2 separate regions of the Homo sapiens genome follow, and region 1 is linked to region 2. Evidence: promoter capture Hi-C in 16 types of primary human blood cells and fetal thymus (Javierre and others, 2016). All regions are on one chromosome and are shown on one strand. The core of a region is centred on a gene start or on the middle of the fragment in contact, and the rest is flanking DNA. Distances in the headings are between cores, read along the strand shown. Region 1 holds the start of TMEM160 (transmembrane protein 160). Region 2 holds the start of DACT3-AS1 (DACT3 antisense RNA 1).

Region 1 (6,173 bases), core at 1,556-4,055, 390 kb before region 2:
CTGCTGTTCTACTACTCCTCAGGGATTATTCAGGCCCCCTCCCTTCCCTACACATCAAGCTCAGGGATTTGCCCCCACCCAGGACTGGCAAATTAGCTTTACTCAACATGCCCCGAGTCAGGAAACCAAAATACCTCTTAGTCTAGGCAGACACTTTCACTGGATAGGTACAGGCCTTTTCTACAAGGTCTGAGAAGGCCACCGCAGTCATTTCTTCCCTTCTGTCAGACATAATTCCTCAGTTTAGCCTTCCCACCTCTATACAGTCTGATAACAGACCAGCCTTTATTAGTCAAATCAGCCAAGCAGTTTTTCAGGCTCTTAGTATTCAGTGAAACCTTTATATCCCTTACGGTCCTCTGTCTTCAAGAAAAGTAGAACGGACTAAAGGTCTTTTAAAAACACACCTCACCAAGCTCAGCCACCAACTTAAAAAGGACTGGACAATACTTTTACCTCTTTTGCTTCTCAGAATGCTGCAGGGTACAGCCTATTTGAGCTCCTGTATGGACAATCCTTTTTATTAGGCCCCAGTCTCATTCCAGACACCGGACCAACTTAGACTGTGCCCCAAAAAAACTTGTCATCCCTACTATTTTCTGTCTAGTCATACTCCTATTCTCCGTTCTCAACTACTCATACGTGCCCTGCTCTTGTTTACACTGCTGGTTTACACTGTTTCTCCAAGCCATCACAGCTGATATCTCCTCATGCTATCCCCAAACTGCCACTCTTAACTCCTGAAGTAAACAAATAATCTTTGCTGGCAGGACTATGCTGAATCTCCTTAGGCACTCTCTAATCAGATGTCCTAGGTCCTCCCAATTCTTAGACCTTTTATACCTGTTTTTCTCCTTCTCTTATTCCATTTAGTTTTTCAATTCATACAAAACTGTACCCAGGCCATCACCAATACTTCTACACAACAAATGTTTCTTCTAACAACCCCACAATATCACCCCTTACCACAAAATCTTCCTTCAGCTTAATCTCTCCCACTTTAGGTTCGCACGCCGCCCCTAATCCTGCTTGAAGCAGCCCCGAGAAACATCGCCCATTCTCTCTCCATACCACCCCCCAAGACTTCAACACTATTTTGTTTTATTTTTCTTATTAATAAAAGAAGGCAGAAATGTCAGGCCTCTGAGCCCAAGCCAAGCCATCGCATCACCTGTGACTTGCACGTATACATCCAGATGGCCTGAAGTAACTGAAGATCCACAAAAGAAGTAAAAATAGCCTTAACTGATGACATTCCACCATTGTGATTTGTTCCTGCCCCACCTAACTGATCAATGTACTTTGTAATCTCCCCCACCCTTAAGAAGGTTCTTTGTAATTCTCCCCACCCTTGAGAATGTACTGTGTGAGATCCACCCCTGCCCGCAAAACATTGCTCTTAACTTCACCGCCTATCCCAAAACCTCTAAGAACTAATGATAATCCACCACCCTTTGCTGACTCTCTTTTCGGACTCAGCCTGCCTGCAGCCAGGTGAAATAAACAGCCATCTTGCTCACACAAAGCCTGTTTGGTGGTCTCTTCACATGGACGCGCATGAAACGATTCTCCTGCCTCAGCCTCACAAGTAGCTGGGATTACAGGTGCCTGCCACCATGCCTAATTTTTGTATTTTTAGTAGAGATGGGGTTTCACCATGTTGGTCAGGCTGGTCTCGAACTCCTGATCTCGTGATCTGCCCGCCTCAGACTCCCAAAGTGGTGGGATTACAGATGTGAGCCACCGTGCCTGGCCCGGGCTTGGATTTTATGAAGAGGAAAAGTAGGGGAGCTAGCAAGGGGGTTACACTTGAGGAGGGAGTTCAAATGGACTGCACTGCATAGCCTGCAGGCTTGCAATGAATGTGAAGCTTTAAATGGGATTAAGTGCAAATTGAAAATATTCCAGACACATTTTTCACATTCCTGGCTAGTGAAAAGGTTTATGCTGATGAGAGAAGGCAAAGCTGAATCCCGGAATGGGTTAGGGCAAAGAAAACAAATCTGTCTTAAAGAGACAGACCTGGCCGGGCACGGTGGCTCACGCCTGTAATCCCAGCACTTTTGGAGGCCGAGGCGGTTGGATCACTTGAGGTCAGGAGTTCGAGACCAGCCTGGCCAACATGGTGAAACCCTGTCTCTACTAAAGATACAAAAATTAGCTGGGCGTGGTGGCGCATGCCTATAATCCCAGCTACTCAGGAGGCTGACGCAGGAGAATCGCTTGAACCCGGGAGGTGGAGGTTGCAGTGAGCCGAGATCGCACCACTGCACTCCAGCCTGGGCGACAGAGCAAGACTCGGTCTCGGGGCGGGGAAAAAAAAGGAAGGAGGGAAGGAAGGAAGGAGGGGAGGGAAGGGAGGGAGGGAGGGAAAAAGAAAGAGAGAAAGAAAGAAAGAAGGAAAGAAAGAAAGAGAAAGAAAGAAAAAGAAAGAAAGAAAGAAAGAGAAAGAAAGAAAGAGAAACAACCAAGAAACAACTACAATAGGTGCTCGGCATGTACTCCGTTAAAAAAGATAGAATTAAAACTACAATTCCCAGCAGACATCTCGCCTGCGACTTCTGAATATCGGCTTTCCCCGAGCGCAATGATCGCTGGGATTCGTAGTCCGGTACAAAATCAAGGAGGGACGGGCACTACCGGCCTAGATGACAGAGGAGGGAATCACTGCCATTCCGACCAATGGACAGTTCACGCCGGACCTGAGTGGCGAGCGCATAGCCAATGGGTAAGCCATTCATCCTGAGTGACATGGGTTGCAACCTACCGGAGGCCGGTGGGGCGGTACGGCGCGCGGCGGCCGTAGTGCGAATCATGGGAGGCGGCTGGTGGTGGGCTCGGGCCGCTCGCCTTGCCCGTCTTCGCTTCCGGAGGTCGCTACTGCCGCCTCAGCGGCCCCGGAGCGGGGGCGCCCGGGGGTCCTTCGCCCCCGGCCACGGTCCCCGCGCCGGGGCTTCGCCGCCCCCAGTGTCCGAGCTGGATCGTGCGGACGCCTGGCTCCTCCGAAAAGCGCACGAGACAGGTCGGTGGCTAGGGGTGGGGGCGGTGCGGATGGGACGGGGGTCCCGGGCTCGCGTGGGACCTTGATGGGGCGGGGGCTTCTGCAGGAAACGGGGCCCGGGCTCGGCTCCGAGAAGGGCTTCAGTGTGAGCGCACGGAAGCGCAGACTGCAAGAGCGCAGGTGCCCGCAGAGGGGATGGGCTTGCGGGGAGGACGAGGACCCCGGGTAACGGGGCGCCGTAGGGATTGGAGGGGGTGGTAGGGTTGCGCGAGGCAGCCTCGTAGAATCGCGCCTGCCGTGGGGAGAGGGGCTTCAGGGAGAGCTTAGGGTCTGTGGAGTTGGGTACAAGATGGGTCCATCCCGATTGCAGAGGCCACCACTGTGCAGAGAGCGGGAGTGTGGATCCCCGCAGAAGAGGGGGAAGTTCAGGATTGGAGAAGGGGACAACCAATCGGGAGAAAGCTCTCTGCTGATTGGAGGGGGAGGTGATCTAGGCTGCAGAGGGCGGGGCTTGTGACGGAGGCGAGGTCCAGAATGGAGCGGACTGGCCATGTTTGTTTTTTTTTTAATTTTATTTTTTTAATGACGGTGTCTTGCTCTGTCACCGAGGCTGGACCGCAGTGGCGCAATCGTAGCCCACTGCAGCCTTGAACTCCTGGGCTCAAGCTATCCTCTTGCCTCAGCCTCCTGCTTAGCTGGAGCTACAGGCATACACCACCGCACCCAACTATTTTAATTTATGTAGAGACGGGGTCTTGCTTTGTTGCCCAGGCTGGTCTGAACTCTTGGGCTCAGAGAATCCTCCTGCCTTGGCTTCCCAAAGTGCTGGGATTATAGGTGTGAGTCACCTCACTAGGCCAGGACCGGGCATCTAGATATAGGGTGTGGTGGGCTGTTTGTAAAGGACGTGAATGGGGACGGACGTGGGTGGGATTGGCCCAGGCCATACTCGGTAGGACATGGATGGGATTGGCCCAGGCCATACTCGGTAGGAGATGGCGGCATTTGAAGGAAAAGAAGGGCGAGGCTGAAGAGCGGCCTGGATTAGGAAACAGTTTGTCCCAGAGTTCTGAGAAAGAAGTGAGTGGGCAGGCCGTGGGGGTACACGTAGAGGGAGGGGTTTGGCCAAGATGACTCCTCAGATGGAGGTTCTGCAACTTTGCCCCTAGATTGTCCTCCACATTCTGCAGGGACTATCTTGAATCCTTTATTTTTTTTGAGACGGAGTCTCACTCTGTCGCCCAGGCTGGAGTGCAGTGGCATGATCTTGGCTCGCTGCAACCTCTACCTCCTGGATTCAAGTGATTCTCCTCCCTCAGCTTCCTGAGTAGCTGGGACTACAAGCACGTGCTACCACACCCTGCTAATTTTAACATTTTTAGTAGAGACAGGGTTTGACTATGTTGGCCAGGCTGGTCTCAAACTCCTGACCTCATGATCCGCCTGCCTTGGCCTCCCAAAGTGCTGGGATTACAGGGGTGAGCCACCACACCCGGCCCTTGAATCCTTAGTGTTACAGAGTTTGGGGGAGAGGGGCACTGAGGTGGAGGCCAGAGAGGATGTGGGGGGATATGGTTAGGTGAGCGGCTTCCTGGAAGAGGTGAGGATTTGGGATGGGCTTGCCTTGCGGCTGGATGGGATGGGGTGAGCTGAAGGGAGGCCCCTCAGTTTGACTGGGTAAGGGGGATTGAGGAGGTAGGGTTGGGGGTGATGTTAATCCCCCCATGTCCCCCTCCCTCCAGCCTTCCTCTCCTGGTTCCGCAATGGCCTCCTGGCATCGGGCATCGGGGTCATCTCCTTCATGCAGAGTGACATGGGTCGGGAAGCAGCATATGGTGAGTGCAGACCCCCCCTCTCGCCCCACGGAACCAGGGAATGCAGAGCCCCTATCACCTGCCCTGGTGAGAGTAGACTCTCCTACCCCATCCCACTCCCAGTAGTAAGTATAGAACCCCCATTCTTCCCCCACCAGAAGACACCCCTCCCATAGGCACTAGGTCCATCTGAATGGGTGGCCCAGGACATGGTTATGGTCCCCTCCCCTCCGATCTGATTCTCAAAGATGCAGGCTAGCCCCTGGCACGGCCCTGCCTCTGTTCCTGTCTCCTCAACCCTGGCTTTGCTCCCAGACCATCCCCCGACCTTGGCCCTGTTGCTACCCTGCCTCTCCCGCAGGCTTCTTCCTGCTGGGCGGCCTGTGCGTGGTGTGGGGCAGCGCCTCGTACGCCGTGGGCCTGGCGGCGCTGCGAGGACCCATGCAGCTGACGCTGGGGGGCGCGGCCGTGGGCGCGGGCGCCGTGCTGGCCGCCAGCCTGCTCTGGGCGTGCGCCGTGGGCCTCTACATGGGGCAGCTGGAGCTGGACGTGGAGCTGGTGCCCGAGGACGACGGGACGGCCTCCGCGGAAGGCCCTGATGAGGCGGGTCGGCCGCCACCCGAGTGAGCGACACGGCCGTGGGGCCTGGCAGGCGCTGGACAGCGCCCGAGGACTGGGACATTAAACCTGACCTCCCCTCCTCCAGATGCAGAGTATTGGTTCGTGTTCCTTGGGAAGGGCGGCGAGGAGCGGACTAACTGGAGAGGCAGGAGGGCGGGTGGAGGGAGAGGGGGGTGAGGACCCGGGGGAGACAGAAATGGACAGAGGAGCTCACAGCCCGGAGCCCAAACCACTGCAGGGAGAGCCGGCGTTTAATTCTCAGGGCTACGGGCAGAGCCGGGCCTACTGTCCTGGGGGACCCCGGTTGTCGCAGGGTCCGGCGCCGGCAGCTCTGCCAGTCCTCAGTCCCCCTTCCGCGGCAGCCTGGTGCCCGCGGGCCCCGGGTAGGGCAGGCCCAGGGGCGGGTAAAAGGCCTCCGGGAGCGCGGGGCCCGGACCCAGCCTCTGCAGGTGCGGGTACACCAGGCCCAGCTCCGCGGGGCCGTAGCGGATGGTGCCGGGTGTGCACAGGCCCCGCACCACCGGCGGCAGGAAGCCCGCGTGCAGGAGGGTGGGCGGGGGGTCCCCGGGAGGCGCCAGGCCCCATGGCCGCACCGGATCCTGCTTCAGGACCCCTGCCCGGATGACAGAGGTGAACTCGGGCCTCGGTGTGGCCGGGTGGCTGGAGGGATCCTCGTCGCCACTGTCCTCGGAGCCTTTGGTTTCCCTCGGGCCGGGCTCCACTTTGATGCGTTTGCC
Region 2 (6,993 bases), core at 1,476-3,975:
CTTTTTTTGAGACGGAGTCTCCCTCTGTTACCCAGGCTGGAGTGCAGTGCCACAGTCTCGGTGTGTGCCATCATGCCCAGCTAATTTTTGTATTTTTAGTACAGATGGGGTTTCGCCATGTTGGCCAGGCTGATCTGAACTCCTGAACTCAGGTGATCTGCCCGCCTCAGCCTCCCAAAGTACTGGGATTACAGACGTGAGCCACTGCGCCTGGCTGATTCTCCAGAAATCTTTTGGCATCATCATTAATAAAAGCATCAAGAAGTCAAAAAGGAAATCAAGTGATCCTCCCGCCTCAGCCTCCCAAGTAGCTGGGGCTACAGGTGTGCACCACCACACCCGACTAATTTTCTAAGTCTATTTTGAACAAGAGGAAGACTGAATAAAGGTTGTCTCTAATAAATTTCAAGACATTTCCCCCCGGAAACTTACTAGATTAGTTTTTAAACTTATTTGTCAAACCCTTCTGTGGCTCTTAATCCATGGAAGACACTGCTCCAAGTACCTAATACATTTCATTGAATCCTCAGAACAACTGTATGAGGCAGCCAGTATTATGATCCCGTGATCAGATGAAGAAACGGTGGCACAGAGAGGTTAAGTAAGTTTTCCAAGGTCACACAGCTGGAAAGTGACAGATCTGTGACTCACCCCGAGGAAGTCTGGCTCCTGGAGACTTTGCTGTCTATCGCCACTATCAATTTCTCTCCATCTCACCACCAGAAGGTCACTTCGTGCACGGGGAATCATAAAAGAGGGAATTTCTTGTATGATCTTCTGGGCCTTGGCTTTTAGGGAGCCAAGGTCTGTCTGAGAGATGAGTATGAATATTAGAGCTAGGTCTTGGAAGTTGGTAGAGGCAGGCTCGGCGTAGTGATACAGATTGGCCGCCTGAGGGTGCCCCAGCCCTGCTTGCGGAGCCTGGAGAGACAGCAGGAAGCCTTGGAAACGAATGTCAGGCTCAGACTCCTAGGACCAGAGAACGTTGAGAATAGAGCATCATAGAAGGCTGAGAACAAAGCCCCTTAGAACGTAGAACAAAGGCCCCTGGAATGGAAGAATGATGAGCACACATCCTCCTAGCACCTGGGAGACAAAAGCTGCTTAGACTCTCTTCTGGTCAAAGCATAGAATCTTCCACCCAGGGTCTTATAATTCCAGAATTTGGAATGCAATCGATCTTAGACTCTTAGCAGCAAGACCGGCTACATATTTGGCCTAGTGCAAAGTGAAAATAAGGGGCCCCTTGCTCAAAAACTAAAAATTTCAAGACAGAAATTGCAGAACATTCAACCAAGCGCGAAGACCCTTCTAAGTGGATTCCAAGCCGGTGAAGCCGGCCCTAAGTAGAAACAATTTCATCGGAGGACGTCCGTCTGGTTTTACAGCTGAGTGTCTGGGAAGGCTTCTTGGAAGAGGAGGCGAAGTCAGGGCTCGACCCCCTAACCCTTTTCTCCCCCTGCGCAGCCTCAGAAGCTGAAGGTTGGGCGGGGTGGAGGGGTAGGAGCAGCTGCCAAACTGTCACGTGTACCCATTCCCTATTTATAGATCACCCTTCCCCTCGCGCCGGACAGTCCAATGGTAGCCAGCGCTCGCCCGCAAGAGGGTGGAACCTGCTGCAGGACCGGCCAGGCACAGACCAATGGCATTGAAGCAAGGGCGGGCTTGTTTCATTGTGACGCGTGGGGGGGCGTGGCCAGGGCCCCGAGGCAGTTGCACGGAGGGGGCGTGGCGAGCGGAGTGAGTAGGCAGTTGCGAGCATGCGTCGTGTTGGGCGGTGCGGTTGCACGCCCGAGAGTCTTCGTCAGGAAGCTTATTCGCCAATAGGCGGCTGTTGCTCGGTCGCCGGGGGCGTGGCCATGCAGATAAGGCGCGGGTGGGCGGCCCAATGGGCGGGCGCCTATGCAGATGAGACGGTGACAGCCCGGCCAGCGGGCGGGCGGGCAGGCTGCTGGGGCGGGGAGGTGGGACCGGGAGAGGGGTGGCCGCGGGGCCCGGCCGGGCTGGGGCGGGGGGCCGCAGCCATGATCCGGGCCTTCTCGTTCCCGGTGAGCCCTGAGCGGGGCCGGCTGCGGGGCTGGCTGGAGGGTAGCCTGGCCGGGCTCTGCGAGTTACATTGGCTCCGGGAGAGGCAGGAGTACCGCGTGCAGCAGGCGCTGCGGCTGGCCCAGCCCGGAATGGGGGGCGCCGAGGCCGAGGACGAGGAGGACGCCGATGAGGATGAAGATGCGGCGGCGGCGCGCCGGGCCGCAGCGGCCCTGGAGGAGCAGCTGGTAAGGGGCTGCCTGTCCGTCCGTCCCTCCACCCCCGTCTGTGTCTGTCTGTCTCGGTTGGATGCTCAGACACCGGGCGGGGGTTGGGGACCCGGGTAGGCAGGGAGTGAGAAAGGACAGGGGGTGGGGCTGGCGACCCCGGAGTTCCGGCGGCGGGCCGGACCTGGCCTCCCCGCCCCCAAATCGGGGGAGGGGGAACTGCATCGCCCCCACTGGGGCCTCGTGAGAAACACAGGCCCTGTCTCTTACACCCCTTCCCCAAAGAAAATCCTTGTGGGCGCCAAGTATGTGTCAAACCCGAGACCGGGTACTTTGCAGGCGTTGTCTTCTTGCGGCTTGGGAAACGGGGTGATAGTCCCCATTTAACAGAGAAACAAATTGAGGCTCAGAGAGAGCAAGCGACTCACCCAAGGTGACACAGCCAGGCTCCAAACATGCCCTTCTCTGGGCCCCGCCACCAGGGCTCCATCTTCCCTAAGTCCTGGTGTGCTTGGAGATCTCTGGAGGGGGCGGGGTGGGAGGAGGGGAATCTCAGGGCCTCCAGAGGGAGGGACCACTGCTGAGAGGAAGCTCACAGTCCCTGAGGACCCCCCACTGGGATCTTGACCCTTTGGTGACACTTCCCCTGCTTCCTACCTGGCCCCAGCTCTCCTTGACCCAAGGGGAGGCAGGTCGAGGCAGCGCCTGGGGGAGACTTCTGGACTCTGGGTGTTCTCATGGTGGAAGATGGGCAGAGGTCTCCGGAATGACTTGAGGACGCCCCATGCCTCTCCCCTTTCTATGTCATTCCTTGAGTCTCCCGATCTCGTCCTGGGTTCTGTCACTCTCTCCGTCCTGCCACATCCCTGTGACTTTCTGTGTCTGCTTCTCTTTCTTCATCCTGTCTCTCTGTCTCTGTGATCTCTGTGTCCCTCTGCATCTGTCTCCTTGGCCTTCCCTTCCTGCCTGTCTGCACCTCGCTCTCTTCTTCTTGCCCGACGTCCCAGGCTCAGTCTGTCTTCCCCTCCCCCCAGCCCGCACACCCTGGCTCCACGGCAGATCCCCATCCCCAAGCCTGTGTGTGGCCAGAGCTTCCCGTTTCGGGAAACCTGAGCCGAGGTGGCAGTGGAGGGGGCTCTCCCCGCCGCTGACCTCGACCGCCCCCTCCCCAGATGGGGAGTGGGGAGGAAGACTGAAGCCAGGCTCCCGGGGCTGCACGCCCGGCCCCTCCCCCTCTCAGGAGTGGGACCCCCCTGCACATTCTTTTCTGGAAACAGAAACAGCTGTGGGAGGCCCCACCCCCTCCCAAAGTTAGAGACGGATTGTGGGGGCCTTCGCTAGCTCCCCCCACCCCAAGCTGGCTCGGCTTGGAAGGCGCCTTCCATCCTGACAAGGAGAATGCGAGGCATGAGGTTGGGGTAGCTGTGGGTAGCTGTGTCCTCTCCCCCTCTGCCCTCGGTCTCTCCCCTTTTCACCCTTCACCTTCCCCATCTCTGCCCTTCAGTCTCCCTCTCCTCGGTCCCTCTGTCCCCTCCTCCCCCTCAGCCCTCTGTCCTCCCGGCACGAGCTGATAGTGGAGAGGCCTGTCCCCCCACCCCCCAGTCTCTAGGCAAAGCTTGTCCCAGCATCAGGGAGGAGGCGGTGGCAGGCGGGGGGAGGAGGAGGAGCAGAGAAGCGCTAAATATAAACTTCTCTAGTGCTGGGGGTTCCTGGGTCCCTCTGAAGAGTGGATTAGGGCTTCTTCTGATCCCCCAACCCTTGTCTTATGACTTATCCCCCCACCCCCAGCCCCTGCCAGGAATACACTTCCTTCAAGGCAAGAAAGACTGAAGCCAGACTTGATTACTTTCTAATAGGAATGATGGGGATACCAGGTAAAGATCAGGGGTGTGGCAGAGAAGAGAGGCAGGAATCCTGGGTGAGGGCAGGGGCTCCCTGGGTCCTGCTTGCTCTCAAGAAGGAAAAAGGTTCCTTTCATCAAGAATAACTTAAGTTAGACTTGCAGAATGACTTCCTAATAGAGATAAATGGGCACTGGATACCAACGAGGGGCACGTGAGGGGAGAAACAAGGTAAGGGAAGTTTGGGCAAAGGGGTCTCCAGGGGTCCTAACCACACTCTTATTAAGCCTGCAGAGGAAGGATGAGGGGCACCGTGAGGAGGCAGAGAGCCAGACTCAGGCCAAGGACTTTCTAATCTTTTAAAGATTCATCCTTTTGCAACTGGAAGGAATGAGGCCAGACTTGCAAATAGAGGGGTGTAGACTTGGAATATTTTTGGGGGGCGTCTAGGTGCTGGAGAGGAGGAGGCATCTCCTGTCTGTCTCCCTAATTTCTGCTCTTCCTTGTAATGGAAGAACCGGAATTAGACTTGGCAGAACTTACCAAAAAGTCTATCCTTTCACGTTTATTTATGTATTTTTAAATGATATATTTATTTATTCATTTATTTTTGGAGACAAAGTCTCTCAGGCTGAAGTGCAGTGGCACGATCATAGCTCACTGCAGCCTCTAACTTGGCCTCAAGCAATCCTCCTGCCTCAGCCTCCCAAGAAGCTAGGACTACAGGTGCACACCGCCACATTTGGCTAATTTTTTTTTTTTTTTTAAAGATATGAGGTCTTGCTATGTTGTTCAGGCTGGTCTCCAACTCCTGGGCTCAAGCAATCCTTCTGTCTCAGCCTCTCAAAGCACTAGGATTGCAGGTGTGAGCTACTGTACCTGGCCTTTATTTATTTATTCATTGAGACAGAATCTTGCTCTGTCACCCAGGCCAGAGTGCAATGGCACAATCTCTGCTCACTGCAACCTCCACCTCCTAGGTTCAAGTGATTCTCGGCTCACTGCAACCTCCACCTCCTGGATTCAAGCAATTCTCCTGCCTCAGCCTCCCGAGTAGCTGGAATTACAGGCATGCACCATCACCCCTGGCTAATTTTTGTATTTTTAGTAGAGATGGGCTTTCACCATGTTGGCCAGGCTGGTCTTGAATTCCTGGCCTCAAGTGATCCTCCCGCCTCGGTCTCCCAAAGTTGTTGGGATTACAGGCGTGAGCCACTGCGCCCGACACCTACATTTATTTTTAATTAAACAATGGAAACATTTTCTATTTTCCTTATAAGAAATTCATAGCTTTCCTGTAATCATACAAACTGGCATTTATTATGTGTCAAAAGAAACTCATTGGCCGGGCGCGGTGGCTCACGCCTGTAATTCCAGCACTTTGGGAGGCCGAGGCAGGCAGATCACAAGGTCAGGAGATTGAGACCATCTTGGCTAACGTGGTGGAACCCCGTCTCTACTAAAAATACAAAAAATTAGCTGGGCGTGGTGGCGGGCACCTGTAGTCCCAGCTACTCGGGAGGCTGAGGCAGGAGAATGGCGTGAACCCGGGAGGCGGAGCTTGCAGTGAGCCGAGATTGTGCCACTGCACTCCAGCCTGGGCGACAGAGCAAGACTCCGTCTCAAAAAAAAAAAAAAAAAAAAAAAAAGAAACTCATTTAATCCTCACAATAACCTCCAGGAGATGGTGTCCTATGATGCCCAGTTATAGATAAGGAAACTGAAGCCCAGAGAGGTAAAGTCACCCACCCAAGGTCACACAGCTGGGGAGCAGCAGAGCTTAATGTGATGCCAAGTCACGCCTCCTTAAACACTTCCTTCCACCATCCAGTCCCCTCATTCCTCCCTGGATCCCCTAAATCCAACCTATCCCCTGAGGTCACCATCATTGTCACCTTAGTGTCACCTCCCAGACCTCTTCCAACATATCTCCTAACAGAAACTGTTTACATACCAAAAAACGTAGAGCTTTTGTCAAAGCTTTGCTTTTTACAAATTCTAGTTTCTTGGGTGAGGTCCCAGAGACTATGCCAGTCAAAGTGTGGCCTCCTAGCCAGCAGCACCACATGACATGGAACTTGTTAGCCATACAACTACTTGGGCGTGACTGCAGGCTGTAATCAAAAGCTCTGGGAATGGGACTCAGTCATTTGGGCTTTCACAAGCCCTCCAGGTAATTCTGAGTCACTCATACTATATATATTCTGCCCTTTTCTGTTTCTGCTCAATGCTATATCTTGGTAATGATTCTATATAGAAATTTGACTCATTCCGTTTTAACAGCTGTATAGTATTCCATTGTATACATTCATTCTTTCATCTAATATTTCTTTTTAAAAAATAGACAGCTGGGTGCAATGGCTCATGCCTGCAATCCCAGCACTTTAAGAGACCGAGGCGGGAGGACTGCTCAAGCCCAGGAGTTCGAGACAAGCCTATGCAACACAGGGAGACCCTGTCTCTACAAAAAAATACAAAGATTAGCGGGGGTGTGGTGGCATGTGCCTGTAGTCCCAGCTACTTGGGAGGCTGAGGTGGTAGGATCACCTGAGCCCAGGAGGTGAAGGCTGCAGTGAGCCGTGATCGTGCCACTGCAGTCCAGCCTGGTGAGACAGTGAGACCTTGTCTCAAAAATAAAATAAAAAAGACCAGGCACAGTGGCTCACGCATGCAATCCCAGCACTTTGGGAGGCTGAGGTGGGCGGATGACTTGTAGTCAGGAGTTCGAGACCAACCTGGCCAACATGATGAAACCCTGTCTCTACTAAAAACACAAAAATTAGCCAAGTGTGGTGGGACATGCTTGTCATCCCACCTGCTTGGGAGGCTGAGGCAAAAAAAAAAAATCACTTGAACCTGGGAGGTGGAGGCTGCACCACTGCACTCCAGCCTGAGCGGTA

Evidence for each region. Contacts are between HindIII fragments. The CHiCAGO score rates a contact against its expected background, and 5 or more counts as called.
Region 1: a contact is called between the fragment with the promoter of TMEM160 here and the fragment with the promoter of DACT3-AS1 in region 2, in 1 of 17 cell types (activated CD4 T cells). The highest score is 5.1, in activated CD4 T cells.

What each region holds. Positions count from the first base shown.
Region 1 is chr19:47,045,256-47,051,428 of GRCh38, reverse strand. TMEM160 (transmembrane protein 160) reads left to right here and starts at 2,805. Exons shown (of 3, transcript NM_017854.2): 1 at 2,805-3,022; 2 at 4,744-4,836; 3 at 5,177-5,520. The coding sequence starts at 2,815. The coding sequence ends at 5,442. It overlaps NPAS1 (neuronal PAS domain protein 1), which reads right to left. Exons shown (of 12, transcript NM_002517.4): 12 at 5,654-6,173. The coding sequence ends at 5,778. RefSeq lists enhancers at 1,345-1,862, 1,863-2,380, 2,504-2,798, 3,308-3,377 and a silencer at 2,838-3,027. The HindIII fragment of the contact is 7,920 bases long and covers 1,873-6,173 here.
Region 2 is chr19:46,656,096-46,663,088 of GRCh38, reverse strand. DACT3-AS1 (DACT3 antisense RNA 1) reads right to left here and starts at 2,725. Exons shown (of 3, transcript NR_040042.1): 1 at 2,681-2,725. It overlaps DACT3 (dishevelled binding antagonist of beta catenin 3), which reads left to right and starts at 1,907. Exons shown (of 4, transcript NM_145056.3): 1 at 1,907-2,273. The coding sequence starts at 2,025. RefSeq lists silencers at 1,530-1,649, 1,860-2,109. The HindIII fragment of the contact is 2,055 bases long and covers 1,815-3,869 here.